Regions from separate parts of the Homo sapiens genome. Here regions 1, 2 and 4 are each linked to region 3. Evidence: promoter capture Hi-C in human tissues and cell types (Jung and others, 2019). All regions are on one chromosome and are shown on one strand. Each heading gives the region's core, a stretch centred on a gene start or on the middle of the fragment in contact. The rest is flanking DNA. Distances are from core to core; before and after follow the strand shown. Region 1 overlaps RALGAPA2 (Ral GTPase activating protein catalytic subunit alpha 2). Region 2 has its middle 41 kb from the start of LINC03083. Region 3 holds the start of NKX2-2 (NK2 homeobox 2). Region 4 has its middle 17 kb from the start of LINC03083.

Region 1 (6,578 bases), core at 3,077-5,576, 870 kb before region 3:
TGTAAGTGTTTCCTGTTAATAGTATCTTATTCTGTAAGGCAACAGTACCCACGGCCTCAATTATCCATAAAAACAATGACAAAGATAATCTCCCTCCAAATTTACATGTGCTATCACTATAATATGCCATGTTGATAATGTTCTTGAGAATCAGAAGATATGGAGCTAAATAACCTCAATGAGACAGAGCAGCTCTTCTTATACCTTATGTCCCTATTCTATTTCTCCAACACCTTTGCCATGCTCTGAATTGCCAGCATCACGCTGTAGGAGACATCTACATAGGGAGATGTGTCCTTTTTCTTTCTTTACACTTCAAATTTATCCCATTCCTAGAATTCAAAAGCACATGTCCCTCCATTTCTGTATTCCTAAATAACTGAAAAGATTATGTCAATAAAAAAAAAAAAGCAAAAGAGGTTGAAAAAATGTCACATGCAGCTGAAAGATGTAGTGAGCTCCAAATGCCAGCAACTGGAGTGACTGCCTCATCTCCTTTCAATTAATTCAAGGTGGTGCTGACTCCACCAGAGCAAGAATATTGCAAGTCAAACACAAAGCTTTGCCAGAAAACCAAACCAAAAAGTGGAGAAAAGCCTAAATAAATAAATAAAAATATTCTGCTTTCTCCCAATAGAAGCCAAAATACACTAGGACAGACACCCCAGCTGGTGACAGTACTGCCCCATTAACGGGGTAAATTCACAGTGTACTTCCAAACACAGTCCTGGACTCCACCACTGTTCTGCACAAACCTCCATGCCCACTCACACCTGTCCTCCTCTCCCAAGCAGGTAAAATGAGTGGTAACATTACTATTCAGCCATCAGACCGAGAGGGGAGGGGAGGGGAGGGGAGGGGAGGGGAGGGGAGAGAAGGGGAGGGGAGGGGAGGGGAGGGGAGGGGAGGGAAGAGAAGGCTCTATGTATATCTTTTTTCTTTTTTTGAGGCAGGGGTCGGGGGATGGAGTTTCACTCTGTTGCCCAGGCTGGAGTGCAGTGGCATGATCTCAGCTCACTGCAACCTCTGCCTCCCAGGTGGAAGCAATTCTCCTGCCTCAGCCTCCCGAGTAGCTGAGACTATAGGCGTATGCCACCATGCCCGGCTAATTTTTGTATTTTTAGTAGAGACGGGGTTTCACCATGTTGGCCAGGCTGGTCTCGAACTCCTGACCTCAGGCAATTTGCCTGCCTCGGCCTCCCAAAGTGCTGGGGTTACAGGCATGAGCCACTGTGCCTGGCCAGCTCTATGTATATCTAATCAAATTATATTTAATTGAACAAGAGGGAAGTTTCTATGAAATTCTACCACAAGTCTCCAATTGTTATATGTTAACTGTATTTAAGAGAACTAAATATAAATAAGGGTAGTTATAAACATGAGATTAACAACCTGATAGGTTTTAACTACAAGCCTATTTCCTTAAAATAAGAGGGACAAAATATAGAATCTACAGTGACGCTAGGAATAACTCACTTCGTTTTTTTTCAACATGTAAGAAATAGTTAACATATCAAGTTTTCAGAGGCTGTGATTGTTTAAGCCAATGTAAACCAACCAATATATTAGCTTATTAAAGGCATTCGCACAACTTAATTAACTCCAAGTGAATTACCTTTCATAAAATATTCATCCCAGGCTGAATTTTTTCTGCCATTTATGTTTTAGGGTAATCTTATCTCAGCATCAAGAAGTATATGTTATAATAAAAGACATATCCATTTCAAAATAAACCAATTTTAACCTATAAATCTGCCACAAATAAATATTCAAGAGTGAGACCCTGTTGTTCTTTTCTCCCACAATGGCTCTCACAATTAGTAAAATTAATTAGAGACAACTATAATTTTAACAACCAGGTTACCAAGATGGACAGAATCAAGCATGTGAGCTCTGAAGCTTAGAGGGCGACTGCACTTCCTTTTTCTGATGATAAAACTGGAGCAGTCAGTGCCTTGCCCATGGTCCCTACCCATACCCAGCAGAATCAGAATTAGAACTCAGAACTCTAAACTCTGAAGCCCAACCCATTTTCTCCTAATACTATTTAAAATGTCTCTCGCAATAAGTTATGATGTAAGAACAAAACCCTAACAATATAATTTCTCAATTAAAAATTAAAACTAAGTCAAGTGGTTTCTAAAGATCTTTTTTCCAAAATGCCCTAACATTGTTACTTTGTGGCATTAACAAATTTAAGAGTAATAAAAAATGTCATTACACAATAAAATAAATACCTTAATAGAATTTCCAGTGTGTAGAAGCTTCTTTAAAGTTGAGCCTGAAAGTTTAAAATAATGAATTATAAATAGAGTATATAAATGCATATCAAAGATCTATTTTAAGAAAATATGTACTTATGACAAAAATATACTTTTTAAAAATAAAAGGAAGAAGGCTGACCTTCAGAAGCAAAGCAATGTCACAGAGGGAAAGACGTTTTCAAGATAAAAGTACCTTAAGTATGTATCTCTTCAGAATTCTTTTAAAACAGTCAAAATGACTGATATTAAGGTAAGCCAAATGCCCACAGTGGATTATGCGCATATATCTCTTGTCATGCATAAAATGGATGCTTTTTTTTTTAATCTCTAAAGGTAAAAATAATGTAAAACAATTGCTCACAAAACATTTTTACAAGAACATTTTACAAATACTTAGAATGGCATGTTTCTCTCCTGGCAATGACAACCACATTTATGGGGTTTGGTCCATCAATAAATCCTCTAGCAGAGCGCTTTGGTCACTGTCAAGGAGGCAGAATCAAGGCTGACTCGGAACTCCAGTCAACTACAAAAACTGGTGCTGCAGCCCACTAGAATGAGAAAAGCTTCTCTTAGGAGGATAGAACACTATTACTAAGTCTTCTATAAATGTATTCATGACCTCAGTATGGAGATGGCAACCCCACCTAAATATCTTATGTAGCCTCTAAAACGGGATCTTAACCTCAAAAAAGGAGATGATCTTTTAAAACAGAAATATACTGAAAATCTGAGGCAAGAGAACTTTCCTCTCAGTCAAATTTCAGATCCTTTAAGAAAAAAATTACTTAGATCCTCTGATGAAAAGTTTGTGATAGCTCTTTAACAACTGGATATCAAATAATATTTACTCCACCAATGAATTTCATAGAGCTCCTCTAACAAGAGAGCCAGTGTTTTGGCAACTGATACAAGCCACAGCTACATTGATAAATACATATATAATAACTAAATGCATACTCTTTAGAAATTCATTAGCCAGAAAAAAATCACTGGCAATCCGAAGGAACCTTTTAGAACGATTCTACTGTTCATAACAACTAACACTAGGGCTTGGAGGAAACTCATCATCATGACTCAGGCTAGGTTCTAGCACTTAAATAACTAATAGTTTGTGCTTGAGTGAATGAAGCGAAAGTGTCTCCCCTTCCCCAACTTCTCCCTTCACAAAACTGTATCCAGTAATTTTTGGTCTAGAGCCAACATTTACTAGGCTGGCTCTCTCTGTCACAGCTAAGGTTCAAGTGTCCATCTAGCCCACACCTTTCCTCAACCTGGGGCCTTGTTCTTTGTCCCCATGTTCATCCATTCTTGGAGAGTTTGTTCTAAGTCAGTTTAACATCTACTTCATTACACCTTATGGTGGCTGGCAGAGCCAACAGATACTAGACCTCCCAGGAGACCTAATGATAAAGTCTGCACAGACAGTTCTCTTTCCAGCCATCTGGCTAATCCATCATCTTGCAACATATTCTTGGAAATACTTTCTCCTGGTCATTGTGTGTGAGCATTGGTGCTTGTTAGTCCTTCCCCTTGTTAAGATGGGTCTGGCTTGTTTTTGGTGGTGGTGGTGCTTTTTTTTTTTTTTTTTTTTTTTTTTGAGACAGAGTCTTGCTCTGTCGCTCAGGCTGGAGTGCAGTGGTACGATCTCGGCTCACTGCAACCTCCACCTCCTGGGTTCTAGCAATTCTCCTGCCTCAGCCTCCTGAGTAGCTGGGATTATAGGTGCATACCACCACGCCAGGCTATTTTTTGTATTTTAGTAGAGATGGGGTTTCACCGTGTTAGCCAGGCTGATCTCAAACTCCTGAGCTCAGGCAATCCACCCGCCTCGGCCTCCCAAAGTGCTGGGATTACAGGTGTGAACCACCGTGCCCGGCCGTTAGTGTTGTTTTTTAAGTATTTGGACTACCTATAGATGCCTATAACCACTGTTCTCTACACACAGAGGAGAAAAATACATATAGAAAGGGCATTACATGCAGACATATAGAACACATGACCCATATTGGTCAATGGTCCCAAACTTTTTAAAATTTATCTGGCAATTTGTTACAGCAGCAACAGAAAACTAATACATATGTATTTGATCTAGTCTATTCTGTTGTAGTGAAAAACTCGTTTGTACATGGGAAGCAGTACAGCTTAGCAGTTATAAGTCAGATTCAGAAGCTAGACTGCTAGGGTTCAAATCTAGGTTCTGCATTTATTAACTGTAACCTAAGTTAGTAACTTCATCTCACTATGCCTGAGTTCTCTCATCTGTAAAATGAGGTGACAATAGTACTTATCAGACAACTGACAGTGAGATTTAAACGAGTTAATACATATAAATGCACAGAACAGTGCCGGGTATGTGGTAAGCACATTTTCCACACAGGACAGGGCATCAGCTATTCTCTAAGGAACTCTTTTTTAATAATAAAAAAAAAAAAAATTAGCAAGAAAAACATGTGCAGTGGAGGCACATAGCATGAGGACTGGTAATAAGTAGCTGAGAACCTTGCTTGGCCTCTGTAGGGCTTTTTTTTTTTCTTTTTGAGATGGGGTCTCACTCTGTAGCCTAAACTGGAGTGCAGTGGCGCGATCTCAGCTTACTGCAACCTCCGCCTCTAGGGCTCAAGTGATTCTTGTTCCCCAGCCTCCTGAGTAGCTAAGACTACAGGCATGCGCCACCATGCCTGGCTAATTTTTTGTATTTTAGTAGACATGGGGTTTCACCATATGGTGATCCGCCCACCTTGGCCTCCCAAAGTCCTGGGATTACAGGTGTGAGCCAATGCGCCCAGCCCTCTGTAGGTATTTTTTAAGGCCTTAAGTTCACAAAGATATTTCTACTTTAACATTATCAAGTCATTTCTCATTTTGTTTTAATTTTTAAGTTCCTCTATATATGTCATGCCTGTTTGGATTTTTAAACTTCTTATTCAAACTATAATTATACCCACCCCACCTCTTCTGTGCCTTGACCATGGGAATAACTGAAAGAATAAGTAAATAAGATCTAATTACTTGGGCTGATTCTATGAATTTCTAATTTCTATTGGCTAACTTTTACTACATTTTAACCATAAATATCCTTTGAATGTAAGTCTTACTACTTTTGAAGAGGCAGTAAAAACGTCAGGGCTGCAACTAGTGAGAGAAGAGTGTAGATTCTGAAAAAAATTTAAGGGATACTAAAAAACTCATTAATCAAGATAAATATTTTCATGCAATGGTTTTTAAAAATTGCATTTTAAAAAATGCAAAGAATCCATAATGAACAATATTAAATTTTTAATTACTAATGTTCCGCTGAACCATATAGGAACCAGAGGGAAAAGAAAAAGGGTATACTTCTGTATGTGTGTTTCTATGTACTTTTAATTTTTTTTTCTCGTGCAGAACATTAAAGTAGCTTAAAAATGTAAAATTGGATGTATTAAAACTCACAGCATTAGTTTAAATATTTTATTTATAACAAAGAATGTATTATAATATTACTTTCCTGGCTCTGAAGAAAGCAAATTCATCAATAATATTTTCAAAATCTATTTCTTTGCTTCTCATTTTAGATTGTAAGAATTGTCACATTTGACAATTTCTCTTTGAACAAGTAACAATCTTTTAAAGATCTTTTAATAATATTTTTAAGGCCAGGAGATCATACAGATATTTCTCACCTAAAACTTTAACATTATAAAATCTTTTCTTATTTAGTTTTAATTTTTTAAAACCTCCTTCTCAATATCACACTTCAAACCAAATTACACACAATGCAGTACACCATCAGCATCAAACAAGAAGCAAGAAAGAGAGAAACTCCCTCTGGGCTAATGGTATGCCAAGCCTGCTAGAAGAGGCCAGTGGAATACGAACAGAGAACTTCCTGGCACTACAAGATCCACACTAAGCATGAGGAACCAGCATTCCACTAAAAAATTTGAAATTAACATAAATTAGCTCAAAATGGATCAAAGACCTAAACTATAGAACTGCTATATGAAAACATAAAAGATCTTTGTGACTTTGGGTTAGGCAAACATGTGTTACACATGACATCAAAAGCACAATCCATAAAAGAAAAAACTGATTAACTGGATTTCTTAAAAATTAAAAACTTCAACTTTTCCAAAGACACTATTAAGGGAATGAAAAGACAAGCCAGAAATGGGGAGAAAATATTTCCAAGGCATCAATCTGAGATTTTTTTTAATGGGCAATAGATTTGAACTTCACCAAAGAAGACAAAGTAATGGCAAATAAGCACATAAAAAGATGCTTAAGATTATTATTATTAGTCAATGAGATACCACTATCACTAAAATAAAA
Region 2 (6,404 bases), core at 1,217-3,716, 590 kb before region 3:
TAGAGGAAAAGACAACAGCAAAAATCCATGAAATGGGAAATAAATGCATAGTAGAGAAAATCCATAAAGCCAAAACCTGGCTACTGGAAAACTAATAAAATTAATAAACTAAGCAAGACCGATCAAGAAAAAGAGAAGAAAAATGCATTTCCACCATCAGGGAGTTAGACTCGCTGTATGTGAAATGCTCTTGGAAGCAGGTGGAGGTTGAGGGGAGCTGCCATCGAGATGCATTTCAGGTACCTCCATGGTTAAGAGCCCAGTGTTGGGCAGATTATAAATTCAGCCTCCTGGCGTGTGCAGACTTTCTGCCTTACAGCCCATATATCATGCTAGGATCAGCTTTTTATATAAAAAAAAATATATATGTATTCCAAAGTTAGGATTAAAGACTAGCAAAATAAAGACTAAGACTGAAAACAAAATTGGGCTTCCTTAGGTTGGGTTCCCCAGAAGACAAGGACTCTAGTTTATTTGAGAAGTGGCCTGAGGAAGCATGGGTGGGGGTGGGGAAGTGGCCATTGCTGTCCTCTGATGGCCACCACACCCCTCCCCTCCCAGGTGAGCACGCTGCTCCTGCCTCGCTGCAGCCTGCATCCCTCTCACAGGTCTAACCAGCTCTGTAACTGTTCTGACCAATGGCATGTGGCAGAGACGTCATTCTGGCACTTCTGAGTTCAGGGCACAAGAGGGCTAGCAGCTTTTCTTTCTCTCTGCTGGGAAATCTCACCGCCGCATGGGAAGGAAGATCAGGATGACCACAGACAATGAAACAGCATGGGAAAGAGAGCCACATGCAGCAGCATTGAAGGGCCAGGAGTGAATGGAAACTGCCTGGACCTTCCGGCCCAGCCCTGCGGCCAGCTGAACACAGCTGAGTGATGACCCCAGTAAATGGCATGTGGAGCAGCAGATCCCCCTGGCTGAGTCTGACCTGAGCTCCTGACCCACAGAATCAAGACAAATAATACATAATTGTTGTAAGCCCTGTCATTTGGGGGTAGTCATCTATTACAGCAATAGATGACTAAGTCAATGCCAGGCCATTCTTGACCAGGTCACTGCTTGGGCAGCTGGGCTCAGTCACACTGGGCTTCTGGGAGATGGTGTCCAACACGCCTTGAGATGTCTCACTTGGGGATGAAGCTGGGGCATTCTCTCACTAACACCTATTGTCCTGGGTGGAGGGCTGCTCATTGGGGTATTAAATGTGAGCCAGAGCAGACCCTGTTCCTACAGCCAGTGGGAGGCAAGTGCTTGCTGGAGGAAATTGTCCCATGCACAGGAATTATACGGGTTCAGTGGCCCTGAGCAGGGTGGCAGGTGGCACAGGCAACAAGATCCAGGCCCTGTGTGCTACTCCTGACTTGCTTCTGCTACTCACACCCAACCCATCCTCATTGCACCAACTCGATCAGACTCAAGTTCTTCACCTGTCCCTGCCTTCTGGAATGATGTTGCACTTTTCTTGGGATGCTCCTTCCCCTTTCATTATTCTAACTCCTATTTTACCATCAAAGGTCAGTGCAAACACTTCCTCTTGGAAGTTTTCAGTATCAGTTAAATATCTTTCAGTTACAAATTAAAAAAAAAAACAGCTACTCAACTCAAATAAGCTTCAGCAAAAGAGAAATTATTAATTTGTTTAACTGCAAAGTCTCAAAGTAGGACAGGCTTCGGGCTCAGTTTGACCAAGGCTCAGTTGATGTCACCAGAAAACATTGTCTCTCTTGGCCTCTGGATTCAGCCCTGTCCATCTCTGTGTGGTGACTACATTGTCAGGCTCCAAATAGTGGTGGGATGGCTGCTACTGCTCTAATTCATAATCTTCTCAATTTCAAAGAAGAGGCTTTAAAACAATTCCTGCAGTTTTCTAGCATTAGTTTAGGTTACATGCTCATCTCTGAACAAGTCCAAGAAGCTGGAGGAAGAAGTATGCTGGTTGTCTTTAGCCTGGTTCATATCCTGTAGTCCTAGGGCCAAAGGCTGGGGCCTCACCTGGACCAATGGGTGATGGATTGGTCCACAAATAAAACTCAGGGGTTGTTGCCTAAATAGGGTGACAGGATGCTAAGGGACGTGAGGCAGCAAATGTCCTCTACTCCTTTCCTGAACATCTCACCTACTTTCCTCCTGCCCTGGTTTAATTTAAATGCCCTTTTTCTGTGACTCTGGCATTTGCCATACTGTATTATAACAGTTGCTTTATGTGATTTTCTCCACCAATGTCCTGTAAAACTTTGTGGACAGAGGCCATGATTGACAGAGGTCATGATTGATGTGCTTTTATATCTTCATACATACTCATCCGCACCAGCATTGCAAATTAATTAGGTCCCCCAAAATGCTTGTGGAATGAACAAACAAATCAATCAATGATCAGCCATAAATAATTATGTAAACACTTTCATTAGAACAAGCACAGTCATGTAAGAACAAAGGCAAGACTCTAACTGATAGATGTTTACTTTTGTTTGTTTGCAAATTTTATTAAAATATAAATACACAACAAGTACATAAATTATAATCAATGGAAGAATGTTCATAATCTGGACACAGTTACATAACCAGAACCAAGATGAAGAGACAACATTACCAGAATTCCAAAAGCTCTTGTTTACTACCTACCTCTAAAGACAACCACTATCCTGACTTGTTAGTTTTACTTGTTTGTTTGTTTGTTTGTTTTGTCTGATTGTTTGTTTGTTTGTTTGTTTGAGATGGAGTCTCGCTCTGTCACCCAGGCTGGAGTGCAATGGCGCGATCTGGGCTCACTGCAAACTCTGCCATCTGGGTTCAAGCGATTCTCCCGCCTCAGCCTCCCGAGTACCTGGGATTACAGGTGCCCACTACCACACCTGGCTGTTTTTTGTACTTTCGGTAGAGATGGGATTTCGCCATGTTGGCCAGGTTGGTCTCCAACTCCTGACCTCAGGTGATCTGCCCACCTCAGCCTCCCAAAGGGCTGGGATTACCACTCCTGGCCAGTTTTGCTTGTTTTTGTAGCTTGTTTGTTCTCATTGCTACATAGTGTTCTATTACGGGATTATGCCACAATTTATGTACCCATTCTACTGTTGATGGACTTTCAGGTGGTTTCCAGTTTGGGGCTACTACAAATAATGCTGCAGTGAACAGTCACAAGTGTCTTGTTAGTGAACATATGGACATGTTTCTGTTGAGTATATACCTACAAGTAGAATTGCTGTTGTAAGGTAGGGATGTATTCAGCTTTAGAAGACACTTTCAGTTTTCCAAAATGGGGGTACCAATTTACGCTTCAGCTAGAAATGTAGACACTTGATTGATTGAATTTTGCAGTTTTCATCTGCATAACCCATGAACACATTTTTCATGTATTCACAGAGCTATGTACACAATAGATGATTGATAAATACTATATGGATGAATGAAGGAATGAATGAATGAAGTACCACACTGAAGAATGCTGAAGAGCCACAGAATTTGATGAAAGCAAACTTTCCCCTTCCTTGACTACAATGTGAATTAAACGAAAGACTTTGTGGAGGATTTCATTCATAATCCCTTCAAAATGAGTTAGTCCTGCTATGTACTGAATGGATTATGCATGAATCCCAAAACAAATCCAACTGCAATTAATGTTTTAATAAACTGGTTGCTAGTGTATGCAATACCCACAACTCGTCAGGAGGGATTTTATTATATTTGTAAACATTAATTAGTTGTTTGTTATTGTCAAACTAAATTTAAAATAAATCCACAGCATCGCTGGCCACTTGGGTGAAAATATCTCAGTGGTGACTGTAATTAGAAAATAGATGTGAGAGAATAGCCTTAATTAGTTAGCTAATGGCGAGCTTTCCACTAATTGAAACGAGGAGTCTCTATCTCACAGGGTGATACAATAAATATCTTAGGTGTGAGCGTGAGTAAGAAGTGAACTCCTGTGGGTATTAGTAACAAGCCCAAATGTTCTTTTAACCCTTTCCTTGTGGTATTTCCATAAGAATCCACATGCTTGTTGCCAAATAAAATACAAAATAAAGAGGAGGTTTTTGGCAGGATGAAACTGATTCTGTCCTAGCCAAAATAGGGAATGGCCTCCCTAATGCCAGATTCAATTTTAGTCCTTGTCTCTCTGAACTCCTCTGGGGCAGGTGACCCCCTATTTTCCTGCTTCTTCTGCTTCTGTGGACACTCATTCTCAGTTTTCTTCATTGTCTCTTCTTTCTCCTAATGCTTACGCATTAGTGTTCTCTAACGTTCTAGTCTTCTCATCTTTTTTATCTTGCACTCTCTCCCATGATGGTCTCATTCACTGCTGTGGTCTTAACCTCCACCCATGTGCAGGATCCTGGATCTGTGTCTTCTTTCCTGCCCTCTCTCAGGCTTCAGACTCAGGTGTCCCATCATCTGCTCATATTCCCTACTGTATTTCTTAAGGGACTTTGTAGCAGATGCTGTTTGCAGTTCCGTCCAAATGTTCCGGGGTCCCGTGTGTCATGTCTGTGTTCTCCTTCTCCAGCTTCTCTGCGGCTTTGCTTCTACCTGCCTGCACCTGTCACTCTCTTGGGTGAATGAACCTGGGCTCTCCACATAATACAGAGAGCCAGAAGGGCCAGAGTTCCCCTCTTGGGTCAGGCTGAGGGTGGGACTTTACCCGAGAGCTCATCCCTGCTGGGCTTATTCCCTTCCCTGTCCCGCTTCCTCCATGTCCTTATTAGTCTCCCCTGGGAGCACTTCCTTAATAAGTCGCCTGTACACAAACCTCATCTTAAGTTCCATTTCTACTAACCTGGCCCAACATATATACCAAGCAAAATACATCATCTCCCCACAAAATGAAAAAAAATATAGTTCCTTCTTTTATATTTCAGCTCTCCACTGGTATCACTATTGCCTAAGGCAGAAAAGAAGAAGTTCTCCCCTTCCCCATTTACCTGCTACTTTCAGCCACATGGAAATGCTCCCCAGATCCTGACAATACAACCCCTCCCTATCCTCACCATCCCCTCCTTATCCCCACCATCCCCTCCCTATCCCCACCATCCCCTCCCTATCCCCACCATCCCCTCCCTATCCCCACCATCCCCTCCCTATCCCCACCATCCCCTCCCTATCCCCACCATGCCCTCTCTATCCCCATCATCCCCTCTCTATCCCCACCATCCCCTCTCTATCCTCACCACCCCCTCTCTATCCATTGATCCTTCCACTCCATCTGTTGCAGAGACATCTACCCGCCCTCCAAACTTCAAACTTTCCCATTCATAGTTTGGGGTTGCTGCCAGGAAGCAGCAGCCAGTCAAGACTACATTTCCAAGCTGATGACCTTGCAACTGAGCAGGCCACATGCCCAGTTCTCACCTATGACAATGGAAGTGACGTGTGTGTCTTCCTGGTCAAGGTTGTCAAGAAGTGGGTGGGGCTCTTCCACTCTCTCTTTCTCCCTTCTGCCTAGATGTACAGGACTTGAGGTCCCCAAGGCTGTGAAATTGCAAGAAAGAAAGGATCTGGGGCTGCTGAGCTACCCGTGGGTGAAGCCCTCCCATGACCAGAAGCACACTCCCATTGGACAAGGACAGAAGCCTTTGTGATGCTAAAGCCACTGAAATTTGAGGGTGTGTTTGTGTGGCTGCGGGGGTGCCCTGGATTACTACACCACCTCTGCTGCCATTACTTATTTAGGATCGTCCCTGCCTGGATTCCTGCATTCGCTCCTGACATAGTCTCCATCCTCCTCACCCGTCACAGATCTGTCTTTTACCTATTCACCAGAACAGAGCAACCTAATGGAAATGCAAATCTGACCTTGTACCTCTCTGTTCTTCAAGAGTCTTGAACACCTCCCATGCCCTGTTAAGTACTGGATAAAGGTGAAGTTTCCCAGCACCTTAAGAGACCTGCATGCCTAACAGTTCTCTCTCAGCCACTCTCAGCCTTGTAATTTATACCCTAGGAGTGCCTGACTACTTACAGCTCCCTGAAAGCATCTGCTGTCTTACCAACACCTGGACAGTCCTACCTCGAATTTGCCGGCTGATTGGTTCCTGCTGATTTTTGAAGATTTAACTTGGACAAGAAGCCATCTTAACATTTCCCCAGGCTGCAGTAGAGCCCTCACTGGGAGTTTCTTCCAGTGCACCAAGAGGCCTAGACTCAGCCACTCCCCAGTCCCTCTTCCCAACCAGACCAACCTGCACACTTGTTGAAAGTAGGGATCCAGGCTTTACATTCCAGAACCGACTCTCTGTCCATATTACTAATCAAAAGTATGAGAGACCAACTTTTCAAAATTATTTCCAAGTTCTGAGATAATTTTCAAGTTCAACAAATATGGAGGGCACGCGTAGCAGGAAAAGTTGCTGTGTTTTGTCATTTCCTTGGCATTGCTAGAGATGGGTTGAAGAATAGTCTGGCAG
Region 3 (6,818 bases), core at 1,922-4,421:
TACCCCCGGCCTCCCCGCCCGAGAGGAACCGCCTGTGGGAGCCCCGCGGGCGGCCGGGCCCGGCTCCCAGGCCCAGGCCTCCGGCCCGGCGCAGTAGGACAAACGGGAGGGCAGGGATTTTTTCTTTTTTTCTTTTTTAAACACAGGATTTTTATTAAAATTCTTATTTAAAAAATCGAAAGCTTTCTGCGCCCGGCGCTGTTGGGGAACCGCGCCGAATAGCTGAGCTCCAAGTTCGGGGCTGAAGGCCCGGAGGACAGGGCAGAGGGCTCCCTGCCTACAGGGTTTTCTTTTCCATATTTGAGAAATGTTTGCACAATAAAATAAAAAGAGAAAGGAAGAAAGCAGGGGAAAACGCAAAAACAAAAACAAAACAAAAAACAAACCCAAACAAGCCACAAAGAAAGGAGTTGGACCCAGACGGGAAACAGGCCGGTCCTGAAGGTCATTTTGGCAACAATCACCACCGATATTTACAACGAAAAGCGAAATCTGCCACCAGTTGTCAGAACGTTTACATGGCCATAAATATTTAGCATTTTCTTATTTTTTTTTAAAAAAAGGAAGAAATTCTCTGTATTTTTAAAGTGTTCTCCACTTGCTTTAGAAGACGGCTGACAATATCGCTACTCACACAAACATATTTTACAAAATGCACGAAAGCAGGGGTGGGGGGTCGGTCTTTTTCTCGTTTTCAAGTGACGACATTAACGCTGGGACGGTTTGGTCCCCCCGGGGAGAGGCAAAGAAGCGAAGCTGCGCAAACATTCTGTAAACACGGCGTAGAGTTCAGCCCTCTCCCAAGGTTCAGAAGGAGAGGCATGGGCAGAGCTGGGTGGGTGGAATCTGCCACTCCAAGGAGACGCAGGCAACCTCCCGGCGCCTCCCTAGTGGAGCCGAGAGTCAACTCGACTCCATAATAATAATTATAATAATAATAATAACCACCATAAGGACCGAGGCCTCCTCGCCGCCACCGCCGCCGGGGTGGGGCCTGGGCCTGGGGCCGCGAGTCTCGTTGGGGCGGCGCTCACCAAGTCCACTGCTGGGCCTGGACCAGGGGGTGTGCTGTCGGGTACTGGGGGGTGCTGGCCGAGCTGTACTGGGCGTTGTACTGCATGTGCTGCAGCGACTGCGCGCTGTAGGCAGAAAAGGGAATGCCCGCCTGGAAGGTGGCGGCTGCCAGGTCCTGGGCTTTGAGCGCGTGACATGGTTTGCCGTCCCTGACCAAGACGGGCACGGCCACCCGGCGCGGCGAGGGCAGGGGCGTCACCTCCATACCTTTCTCGGCCCGGGCGCGCTTCATCTTGTAGCGGTGGTTCTGGAACCAGATCTTGACCTGCGTGGGCGTGAGGCGGATGAGGCTGGCCAGGTGTTCGCGCTCGGGCGCCGACAGGTACCGCTGCTGCCGAAAGCGCCGCTCCAGCTCGTAGGTCTGCGCCTTGGAGAAAAGCACTCGCCGCTTTCGCTTCTTGCCGGCGTCCCCCCCGCCGCCCGGGGTCTCCTTGTCATTGTCCGGTGACTCGTCGGCCGAGGGCTCCGGGGACTTGGAGCTTGAGTCCTGAGGGGGCGCCCCGGCAGCCAGACCGTGCACTGGGGGGAGGGGGAGAGAGAAGCGCGTCAGGCGTCTGGAGGCCGCGCGCAGCCTGCACCAGACTCGGAGCACCCTGGATCCTCCGTGCGACCCTGGACCTCCGCGCCTGGCAGCCCAGCCCCGCTGCCTTTGCCATGACCCCTGCCTTCCTCTACGCCTGACGAAGACGTCGGGACCTCCCAGGGTAAAGAGGGAAATCCGTAGGAGTGGGGGCTAGGGGCTCGCCTTTCAAGGGGCTCACATAGTGTGGGTGAGAATTTGGGGGGGGAAGTGGCACTGAAGATCATCGCGGGTTAAGGGCTCCGGCGCCCTTAAGCGGTTTCCTCTCCGGCGAGACGTGGGCAGATTTTTAAAAGAAATACCCCACAATCCCAGCATTGATCGGCTCGGCCATTTAAGGCAGGTTTTTGGGGGCTTTCGTTTCTGCTTTCGGGCCTTCTAGACACCCCCTGCACTGCACAAAGCGTCCTCTATGATCGCGCAGGGGGCAGGGTGAGCTATTTATACCCGGGCCACCCGAAGCCTCCCCACCCTCCACCCGTACCCGGACGAGGCTCGCTGGCTACCTCCAGGGCGCCAGGCCAGTCCCTCCCAGCGGCCGGAGTCCGGGGGCTGCGGCTGGAGCCATCGGTCCGGGTTGACATCATATACCAGCCCCTGGGAGGTATAGCCCTTCTCCCTCTTTCTCCTTAACTTCTCGCATTGAAAAAAATTTTGGAGACCAAGTTCTTTCCCGGAACTAAGGAGGCTTGAAGAGGAGGGCAGAGGACATCCTATACAGGTGTTAAAAATCTTTCTACGGATCCGAGTGAGGGGGTCCGGGCTTACATGGCCCCTTCCCCTTTCACTCCCAGCGTCCAACCCGGGCTGCGGCTGCAGGAATGGAGGGGACCACGGCCTCGGCAGCCAAGTTTTGCTACTTACGGGAGTACTGAAGGCCCTCGGTGCTGGCCAGCCAGCGCGTGTACGGGTTGTCGCTGCTGTCGTAGAAGGGGTTCTTCAGGGGCAGGCTCTGCACCGCGTCCAGGGCGCCCTGCCCCAGCGGCCCGGCCCTCTTGGCTGGCTCGGGCCCCTCGTTCTCTTCCTCCGGACCTTCGGCCACAGAGCCCTCCTCATCGTTGGTGTCCGGCAGGTCTAAGATGTCCTTGACCGAAAACCCCGTCTTTGTGTTGGTCAGCGACATGGTTCGAGACCCCAAAATTTATGTCGCAAAGTTGTAGCTTCACTTGGTCAATTCGTGGCGCTCCCCTGCCCCGGCGGGCGGGGGAGGGGGGAGTTGGGGGGAGGGACTGGGGGAGGGGAGGGGGGAATTGGCTTTAATTATTGGGATAATTATTATTTTTAAAAAGAGAAAGAAACTGGGGATGGGGAGGAAAAAAATGAAGCCCAACCCAGTGCCTCTCTCTGTCTTCTTTGAAAGCACGCGGAAATGGACGCAGGAAGCCGGGCGGCCTGCGCGCCGAGCGCCGCGGGCCCCGGCCTTAGTTTCTAACTCCAGGAGGGGTGCCAAGGCGGCGTCAGCTCGGGCTCCGGCGGCCGCTCGGCGCGCGGTGGCGGCTGGTGGCGAGGAAAAAATGGGCCATTGCCCGAGCGATCAGTCCATATAAGGCTGGGCTCCACTCACGAACCTGGGGAGGCGGGGAGAGGGGGAGAAAGAGAGGGAGGGAGGGAAAGAAAGAGGGAGGGAGGGGGAGCGAGAGAGGGAGCGGGAGAAGGGTGGAAAAAAGGGGGAAGAGACATTAAAAACGCAAAGGTTGGCCACGTGTGGGCGGGTCTTGGGAGTCAAGTGGATGAAGACAGTATTTGCAGATGTGAAATTGTGGGTTTTGGGGAGCTCCGCGCTCCCAGCCAACGGCCCTCTAGAGCAAGATGAGAGGTGTAACGTGTCAATTAATTGCAAAGACGGGGCGAGCCTTTTTTTTTTTAAACCCAGTATTTACATACAAAGGGCCACCGCGTCGCTCGCGAGTCCACACACTTGAAAGGGCCGTTTTAACAAATTGCATCTTAAAAAAGGTGGGGGTGGGGAGGAGGAGGGGAGAAAACAAAACAGAAACCAGGAGGAGGGAAAAAATCCTCTTTAACATTCACCGGTTCCTACCTCCCCGCCCCCGCGCGCCCACCCCCGGCAAGCCGGAAAATTGGCGATTTGTGGCGCCTTTGGAAAAGGGGGAGGGGGCGAAGGCCGAGCTGCGGAAATCTCTCCTTTCCATCGTTGGTGGTTGCCTAAACAAGATCCGGTTCAAATGGCAAGAGCCCAACTTCTGTAAGCCTCCTAGGTCAATATTTTGGTTGAGGCTTAAGGATGAGTGCTAGAAATGACAAGGCAAGTAATTGATTCCAGTTAACCGCGAGAGAGCCCAAAACCCAGGAGAGAGCTCCGCTCCGGGCCGGCCAGAGCCACCACCAAGCGACCCGCCCCCTTCCAGCCGCCCTTTATTTGCTAAAGACTCATTTATTTCCTTCACTCCGCCTCCCCCCACCTCCCACCCCCAACCCCCCGCCTCCACCTCTCTGCGGCCAAGGAGGACGCGCAGTTCACTTTCTGCTTTGCGGGCGGTCCCGGGGAGGGCGGGGTAAGAGTGAGGAGCTCCAACTTCGTCTGGGGTCGGACCCTGGCCCTGCTGCCTCTGGGCTCTGCGGGCCTCTTTCCCCGGGTGGAGGAAAGGGCAGACGGCCCTGCTCTTTCCTGCCCTCTATTATCCCTCCCTCTCCGGCCCCCTCCCTCTCCAGCCTCTGGCTAGAGGTGGAGCAGCGGGAAGGCGGCGGGGCGGGATTGCGGGGGTGGGGGTGGGGGTTGTGTCTCCAGCCTGGGTGAAGACCCAGAAAGCTGCGGGGGAGGGGGGTCGCTGGGTGGCCCGACGATGCCTCGTTTTCTCCCCAGTTTTCTTCTCCCACGCGAGTTCTTTAGTGTGGTCTCTTTTTGGACGCCTTGGGTGCGTTCGGAGTACGCGCTCCACGTTTCCAGGTTAAGTCAGGTTAGTGTGAAGTTTCCAGCCACTCTCGGCTCTGGGAACTGAACTTTCCCGGGACTTGCACTTCCTCCTCGGCGCTGGGGTTGGAAAAGACCACGCCGCATTTGCCACCCCTTCTTCTAGTTAAAACTTTTTTGGGGGGGGGGTGCAGGGGTGTAGATTGGCTACCTGATGCTCGTTCGCCCCAGAGGAGTGTCAGGAAGGAGCTTTGTCTGGGGGCGGGGAGGGGCACAGAAGGCCACCCCTGCGGGGTCCAGGTCTAGTCTTCCCACAACCTGGGCTCCTCCGCGCGGGCCAAGCTGAGCGCGCGGGCACCGGGTCCTCCTCGCGCGCAGCTGCAGCGGACGCCGCCGCGCCCCAGCTGCCCCCGGGTTGCCAGCGCTGGGTGAGGGCACCTCTCCCCGAGCCGCTCGGCGGCTTTCTGCAGCCCTAGCTGCCTCGCCCCCAGTATGTGACGTGGGTGACAATGGCCCAGGTTAGAGCAAGCCCCTCGTCGGCGCGTCCTGGGTGGTCGGACCCGGGCAAACACAAATACAAACCGATTGCTAAGCTGCGGACAATGAGCGAAATGTAGACAAATGTCCCGCTCCCGTTGGAAGCCTTTGTCCCGGCTCGGTTTTTGCATTTATTTCAGTGGCGAAATAATACATGATTGACGCTCTCTTTCAATGTGTCCTAACTGTTTGGAATAAATCTAAGGTTGTTCCTAGTTGTCATGGCATTCAACCCTTTTCAATGGACTATCTCTTCATTCATTTCTGAATCCGTCCACAATATTAAGGAAACCCCTTCATGTCGACGCTCCCCGATTCCTCTTTCTCCTCCTACTTTTTCTTTTCTCCTTTCTCCCCCTCCTTCCCCCCTTTTTTCCCCTGGAAGAATTAGAAACTTGTTTGAATCGTCTTCCTCGAACCCATTACTTTTCGTGCTTTTTTTTTTTTTTTGCTCGCTTTCCGTCTCTGTCTTTCTCAGCGCCCCCCCTCCTCCGCCCTTTCACGTGGGAGCTCGTCGCTCTGCCCCGTCGGAGGAGGGAAGTTGGTTCTCCAGGAGTCGGGGAAGCGTCGAGTTTGGATCCAGGGGCGGGAGTGGGCCTGCCACTGCTATTGTTACTCAGCTGCTAAATAAATAACTGGAGAGAAAAAAAGTTCCTCAACCCAAGCGTTGCAGCAAAGACCCTCCTTTTGTTCCTCCTCTTATTCCTCAGTCCTAAGGGGGTGGAGGCTGTCTTGGGGTCCAGGGCAGCCACTAGGTTGGGGACCCAGAATAGGATCTGGTTGGGCCAGGCAAATTCTTGGGTCAGGTGGCAAAGGGGTCTTTGGCAGCAAGTGTCGTTTCTCGCATATCCCCAGAGCCCTCTTAGGTGGGGGAGTGCCCGCAGAGGCCTCCCAAAGCGTGTTCATTTCTTCAGCTGGGAACCACCTCGCTGAAGTTCCATGTAGTTCCCAACTTCTCTCCCCCTTCCCCAGCATAGTGACCCTTTCTTCTCAGGATCTAAATCAGCACCGCTGCTATTGATCAAGTCCCCTCCCCTCACCCGTGGGAGCCTGCAAGGTCCGCAGAGCGCCTGAGAGAGGATTGCTTTCCTAGGGGAATCCTGGCTCCTGGAATTAATCACGGGGAGGGAGTGCTGCCATAGGCGCCTAGAGAAGGAGGCCCTCAGCCCAGTTCTCAAAGGTCGGGTTTGCCTTTGCGCCTGCCCCTTAGCCTCAATGACCAGCCGAATCCTTCTGGGTCTCAGCTTGCGGTGTCCTCTTGTCGGAGCACCTGAGGCGCCCACTTCCCCTGCCCTCGCAGGACGCCTCCTGGACTCCGGCCCCTCCTACACTTTCACCCCAGCGAGTCTTCCAGTTTTTATTTCCCCTGGCCTGGGGGCAGCTGGGCAGGGAGGGAGAGAATTGGAGAGAGCTTCGGCCTTGCCTCCTCCGCGATCGGTGCTTCCGGGTCCACAGCACTCAGCCTCTCCCGGGACCTCGAGACTCATTTCCCCATCACTTCTCGTCCGTGTGGTTCCCGCGTCCATTTCCAGAGCGTTAACATTTGCAATTGAAAAGGCGCTGGGAGACCGCTGGGAGGTCCGTAATTGAAGGGGAGAAACTGGGCTTGTTAGTGGAAGATCATAAAATGCAAGTCCCCCAGGAGCGGCCTGTGGACGCCGGGAGGCCTGCGCAGGCCCAGCTGGCGGCCAGGGCAAGTCCGGTGCCCAGAGCACAGTCCAGTGTCTCCTCAATTTCTTGGGCCCGGCTTGCGCC
Region 4 (6,450 bases), core at 3,127-5,626, 560 kb before region 3:
CCTGCCCTTTTAACACATCCTTGTTTTGCCTAAGTTGTTCGGGATCTATTTCTATTGTTCATAACCAAAGCATCCTGGCCAACCCAGGTCCCTGTGGTAATGTTGGGGACACTGCAGTCTTTGTATATTTGATTCAAGTTCGTTGCTTGATTTGCTCAGGCACATTCTCTGGAATGAGAAGAAGTCGAGACTAGGACTCCCTAGCATAATTTGAAAGCCCTCAGCCCCTAGACATTACAGATCCACCACCCAAATCCCTTTCAAGGAAAGACTTGCTTGTCCAGCCACATAAATAATGACCCAAAATTTATTGGCACAAAACAATTATTTATTTTTCTTATGGATTCTATGGATGAGAAATTAACAGAGTAGGAGCAACTTGCCTCCAGTCCAAGATTTCTTGGGCTTCAGCTGGAAGATTCCAATGCTGGGGGCCTGAGTCATTTGAAAGCACATTGCACATTCAGTTGCACATTGGAATTTGGGGCTGGCCATGTTGTCTCTCCCTGTGTCCTGGGCTTCCTCACAACATGGTGACTGAGTTTCCAGGGTGAGTACTTGGAAGCAGACAAAGCCAGGTAGAAGCCACATGGCTGTTTATGACCTGGCCTCTGAAGTCACATGGCATCACTTCCCCCAGCATCTACTTACGTTGAATTTCCAGGGGAGAAGAAATGGACTTTACTTTTTGGTGAGTGAATGGAAAGGCTCTGGAAGAACATGTGGAGTCAAAAATATTGAGTTGGCCATTTTTGGAAAATACAACTTGCCGCATGTTCCCTTAGAGCAAAAATAGAAACAGTAAACTTTGGCTCCACAGGAGAGCTGGAGCTTCACCATCAAGGATGTAAGAAGGAAATATGCAAATATCTGGATTCAAAAGGAAAACATAATGGATAATTTGAAATAGCCAAATATTTGTGTCTTATAAGTAAAAACATTAAAACAAGCTTGGAAACCTCTAGATACTTGATCTCATGTAGACCACTGGTTCCTAACTTGAGCCCATGACCCAAATTGTGATCAATGCAGCCTATGGAGATGTTGTGAAAGTGGCTCAAAGAAAGATGCTATGCTCTGGCCACAGCCCTTGCAACAAACCACAAGGCCATGTGCAGGAGACCAAGTTTGGGGGTGTTAGGAAATGGCTGGACCATAACGATGATAAAAGCTGTGCTTCCTCCTCACAGCCCTCATGTTAGAGATGCACCAGCTGTTCTCTGAGGGGCTGGAAGCTGATGCCATGTTTGCTTCTGTAGGAGATGCTGCCCATGCCTGTTCACAATGCCTTGCATCCACCCTTCCTGCACATGCCAACCCTACTGTCTCCTACCATTAGCACCTATGATGCTGGTGGGCATTGAAAGCTGTCAGACAGAGCCCTCTCTTGCCCCAGAACTTGCTCAGCCCATGCCTGAGGCAGGCCAGAAGTGCCAGGGACTTCATGTCCCACGAGCAACCCTCCACAGGGTGGAGGGTGTCTTTACCTCCACAGGATGAGTCTAAAGCATGTTGTACACAGGATCCTAGGGGTCCCCAGCAGGATCAAGTGTCTCTTTCCACTCCATTTCCTCACTCCCCTACCAGTGCTGCTTGGCATTGTTTCCAAATAAATGACTTGCATTCAAGTCTCAGTCTTAGGGTCAGCCTCTGGAGGATCCCAACCTAAATTTAAAATGTACACTCCTGAGACAAAAGAAAGGGGATGGATAGAAGAATCAAACAGTTTGGGATGTCCTACAAATGAGACTTGAAATCTTAGTCCTGCTTATTTATTAGTCTAATCAGTCTTACATGAGATGGTGATCAGTTTCCAAAAACAGTCATATTTAGATAATTCCCTCTCAAGCTTCAGGGTCACAAGTCTTTATTACCCTATTAATAGGTAACAAAGACTACAGGGAGCAAGGTGGACCTCACACAAGGCCCTTAACTGCTATGGTTCAGTATTCTTATCTGTACAGTGGAAGTAACAATAGTAACCACCACCTCATGGGTTGTATAAATATTAAGTATCCCTAATACCTTTAAAACAGGGTCTGTAGCAAATGTGCAGTAAATACCAGTTGCTTTTATATCTAGAAAGTCTCCTCCTGAAAGCCTAAAACTGGTCCTAAGCTGAGCGCACCAGTTTCCCCCAAACCCATTTTTTAATTAGTGCTCTCCACTGTATTACTTAGAAGGATTAGCTGCTAATTGCTAAAATCAACCCAAACTGGCTGACATGGTTTGGCTGTGTCCCCACCCAAATCTCATCTTGAATTGTAGTTCCCATAATCCCCACGTGTCGTGGGAGGCACCCAGTGGGAAGTGACTGGATCATGAGTGCAGTTTTTCCCATGCTGTTCTCGTGATAGTGAGTGAGTTCTCACAAGATCTGAGGTTTTATAAGCTTCTAGCATTTCCCCTGCTTGCACTCATTCTGTCTCCTGGAACCCTGTGAAGAGGTGCCTTCCCCCTTATTGTAAGTTTCCTGAGGCCTCCCCAGTCATGCAGAACTGTGGGTCAATTAAACCTCTTTTCTTTGTAAATTGCCCAGTCTCAAGTATTTCTTCAAAGCAGCATGAGAACAGACTAATACACTGGACTATGAAATAAAGGCTGAAACAATAAGTCAGTTTTTGAGTCAATCAATTCATGTGACGGAAACATCGTGGAAGGGCTGGTATTGGGCCAAGTGGGCCCGGTTGCTCAAGACCTATATCTTTCTCTCCATGTCCTAGCTCTGCCCTCTCCACATTCATTCCTGACAGAGTCACCCTTGTGGGCCAGCATTGACTATGTGCTCCTTCCTATCTGGTGCTAGTGGGGTCTCTTCCACAGAAAACCAATAACTGGGCTTTAGCTTGATTGGATCAATTTAGTCTATCTCCTTATTCCTAAACCAATCATGATGGCCAAGAGGAAGGAATAGTGCTGACTGGTTTACGACAGAACCACCTGTCCCACCCCAAAGACCATCATGTCATCCTTAGGAGGATTACAGATGGACGTGGGAATAAAAATAGGCATGCTGCCTGCAAGAGAAGAAGGAATGAATGCTGGTGGCCAAAGGCACCAGAAAATGTTGACCTCACCTACCTTAGTTTCTGGCACCTCCTTCTACCAGTTGCACATTCTAGGAAGCTGAAGTCCTTCCTCTTCCTCTCTCTTCCATCTTTCAATTTGCATGACCCTTTTATTAATTGTCCTCCTAAAAATCTTCTCAATCCAGCCACTTCCCTCCATTCCCATTGTGAACTATGGTCTTGATCATGCCCAGGCCAGCCGAATGGTGTCAGTAGCGGTTGGAAGACAGAAACCTTATCTGTTATTTTAACAGAGAGAAGTTCATATAAATGGTTCTTAATTTTGTAACTAAAATAGTTAAACATGACCTCTAAGATGTCACAGAGGTAGCAACTTCAGAAAGCAGCTACCAGTCTAAGGCTAAGGGGTAAAAAGGAAAAGGTTGGAACTACTGAAACCTAGAAGTATGGAGAGGAGACACCATGGAGTTGAAGTTGAGACCCCTGAAGAGGGGCCCTGGCCAGCTTGGGCAGGTGTCTCCCAGCAGAAGCAATGAGGTTAGCTCTGCACGTATTATATAACAACAGCAAATTGCTGCAGTGGAAGGAACTGCCGCTGAGAGGTGAGGAAGCAAGACTGGGAAGATGCTGTCAAGAACTGAAAGTAAAGGAAGCAGCCAGAAGTGTGGCTGGGTGATGCTCATGTGAACAGGAAGCCAATTAAAGGGCACAGGTCCCTTCTCACTTCAGCCTTGCAGCTCCTGCAAACACCCTGTGTTTTCAAAGCCCCAAAAGAAGCAGCTAGTAAAGCAGAAATAAGGCTTCAGCCCTAGTGATACAGGCAAACCCCCAAATTGGGGTCCTGCCAAGGAGGGTTCTTGGTTTCACTCAGGAAAGAATTCAAGAGTAAGCTGACAGTGAAAGAAAGCCGCTGCGAAGTGAGGAAGCGAGACTGAGAAGATGCTGTCAAGAACTGCATTTATTAATAAACTGTGTTTATTAGAGCAACGTGTTGAAGAAGATGGCTGCTTCATGGACAGAACACGGCTATCCCATAGGCAGAGGAGCACACAGTAGCACTCGTGGGTTGCTGGCTAGCTCTATTTACACCCTGTGTAAGATACTGCAAATCTTCATTATGTGCTAAATAAGGGGTGGGTTATTCACAAACTGTCCGGAAAAGGGGTGGAGAATTCTTGGAACCATTTAAGATAACTTCCAAGTCGAGTGTTGTCATGGCATTTGTAAACTGTGGTGGAGCTGATGAGAGTGTCTTATGCAAATATATTATAATTCCTAGTCCTAGCTGGTTTTGGCCGGTTTCTTTGCTGCATCCTGTTCAGATCAGCAGGGTCATGAAAACAAATCCCTCTGATCTCCTACCTCACAAGGATCACAAAACACCGTATAGAGGAATGAGCTTGGAGCTAAGAGGCAAGATCTTATTAACAGTCACTGGCTTCCTAAATAGCTCTTTTAATTCACTCCTCATTTTCCAATCTATCCTTCATCCCTATTGCCCCAACTCACACCCAAATGCATCATGGCATCCTGGCTGGACCAGTGAAGATTGATAGTGGCTTCAATTGGGAAAAGTGTGGGGTGGGAAGAGGATTTAGGCATCCTGGAGTCCAGATTAGTGCAGCCATGCTGAGAATGAAAGACGGTGCCACCTTGTGTCCTGTACCCTATTGGTGCTGTTAGTGAAGAGTCAGACTTTCCAAGATGATTCTTGATGTTAAATTAGCTTTAACAATTTGAATGTTTTTGGCTTTGTAGATATATTTTTATTTGAATTTGCAAAATCTTTAATAGTTGCATAAGAATTATAATCCTAGAAGGCTAATATGCATTTGTACATAAATAACAGTTTTATCTTAATAAAAATAAGTTATCCCCGGGGATTCACGAAAATTTGCTTTCCCTTTAAGATGGGTCCATGCATTACTCAAATTGATGAAAAGGAAAAATGCCATCTGACTCCTGGACAGGAGGTATAAGCGGCACCAACCCCATGGTCTCCTAGCCTGTAACATGGGAAAATGGCAGAACCATGAGTGTGTGGGGGCCAGAAGATACTGCTACATTTTTTTTTGGATGTGTTGAGAGCTTAAGATGGTTGGAAAGCTTAACAGAGACGTGGAGGGGGGTAACTAGATGATGGGGCTAGATAGGTATCCGAGAAAGACAGGCAGAGAAGCATTTGATGCCATTAAATATGACCCTTTGTGTTCGGAAATGTACCTGCTGATTAATCTGCCATCTGTATCTATTCAGTGAAGGCACAGATGTGCTGAGGGGTCAGAGAGAGTGATTAGGGACCATTACAGAAGATGATGTGGCATTTGAGTTGGGCCTTAGAAGATTGGAAAGGTCTTAAGAGATGGAGGACTGGGGTGAAGGCCTGCCAGGCTGGGAGAATGACATGAACCAGGGCTCAGAGGAATGGCGGGGCTGGATCCCTGGAGGAGTGGGAGGTGACATGTGGAGGCTTCAAGGCACCAGGTTTTGCAAGGCTTGAATTCCAGGTGAAGGAGCTGGGATTTTATCCTGAAATAAAGGTGGAGATCCTTGCTGTTTTCTGAGAGAGGGAGGGCAAAATCCAAATCTGTTATTATGGTTCTCATTTTTCCATTGAGGAAGGTGACACCCAGAGTCGCTGGAGACCCCCTAAGAACACAGGGCTGTTTAATAGGTGTGGAGAAGCAGTGCCTACCCCAGCCTCCTGGTCTACCAGGGCACATCACAGTAAACACTGTGTGCCTGGCTGAAATCGGGAGCCAAAGGCCTCATTTGCATATCTCTCTGGCAGGCAAGGACTGCCCTGCCACTGGAGGGAATAGTCCACATCACCCCCGACACTATGCTGGTGACAATTGGAACTGGAGGTGTTCACAGGCCCTAGTTCATCTGGGAGATGTATAACCATGCAGCCGTCCCAGGGCTGCCATTAGCGCTTTATCTGAAAAGGCCAAACAGCTCCTGCCCTGTAAATTATATCTCATTTCTTTAAAAAATGTGTGTGGATGGAGAAGGGGCAGAGGGATGCAAGGGAGGAGGAAGGGAAGGGGGGCAGCAGGGAAGGGTAAATAGATAAAATAAATGGGCTTGGTGCATGCCTTTTGACCATTTTGCTTTAGTCTATTGATTTGGATTTTTCCCCCTACCCTGGGAGTAATCAATTTTTCGGTGGATGGGCAGAATACAATAATTTCAAGCAAACTCTTCAAATGGGTTGTCATTAATTTGCCTTCTGCCGGTCCTTGTTCCCTCGGAGTAAGATGTGTTTAGCCTTCTCGGAACACTATTGGAGGTATCCTCTGGGGATTTGTGGGGGCTGATTGGCACAGGGCAGGGAATGCAGACGTGGGAGGGGCGAGGAGAGCTGGTGCGGACTAATGAAGGCACAGTGTTTGCTCATCTTTACAGAGTCACTTATTAC

The links. Contacts are between HindIII fragments. The study calls those that stand out against the background at their distance.
Region 1: a fragment that was not itself captured here is called in contact with the fragment with the promoter of NKX2-2 in region 3 in 1 of the 25 tissues and cell types used here (dorsolateral prefrontal cortex).
Region 2: a fragment that was not itself captured here is called in contact with the fragment with the promoter of NKX2-2 in region 3 in 2 of the 25 tissues and cell types used here (H1 embryonic stem cells and pancreas).
Region 4: a contact is called between a fragment that was not itself captured here and the fragment with the promoter of NKX2-2 in region 3, in 4 of the 25 tissues and cell types used here (dorsolateral prefrontal cortex, lymphoblastoid cells, mesendoderm cells and 1 more).

What each region holds. Positions count from the first base shown.
Region 1 is chr20:20,641,269-20,647,846 of GRCh38, forward strand. It overlaps RALGAPA2 (Ral GTPase activating protein catalytic subunit alpha 2), which reads right to left. Exons shown (of 40, transcript NM_020343.4): 5 at 2,238-2,281. Among named protein-coding and RNA genes, the nearest start is that of RALGAPA2, 68 kb to the right of the region's middle. The HindIII fragment of the contact is 6,194 bases long and covers 1,230-6,578 here.
Region 2 is chr20:20,925,782-20,932,185 of GRCh38, forward strand. No RefSeq gene overlaps it. Among named protein-coding and RNA genes, the nearest start is that of LINC03083, 41 kb to the right of the region's middle. The HindIII fragment of the contact is 3,405 bases long and covers 765-4,169 here.
Region 3 is chr20:21,510,893-21,517,710 of GRCh38, forward strand. It overlaps NKX2-2 (NK2 homeobox 2), which reads right to left and starts at 3,172. Exons shown (of 2, transcript NM_002509.4): 1 at 2,519-3,172; 2 at 125-1,593. The coding sequence starts at 2,777. The coding sequence ends at 1,031. RefSeq lists an enhancer at 4,869-5,369. The HindIII fragment of the contact is 15,862 bases long and covers 1-6,818 here.
Region 4 is chr20:20,950,215-20,956,664 of GRCh38, forward strand. No RefSeq gene overlaps it. Among named protein-coding and RNA genes, the nearest start is that of LINC03083, 17 kb to the right of the region's middle. The HindIII fragment of the contact is 5,955 bases long and covers 1,400-6,450 here.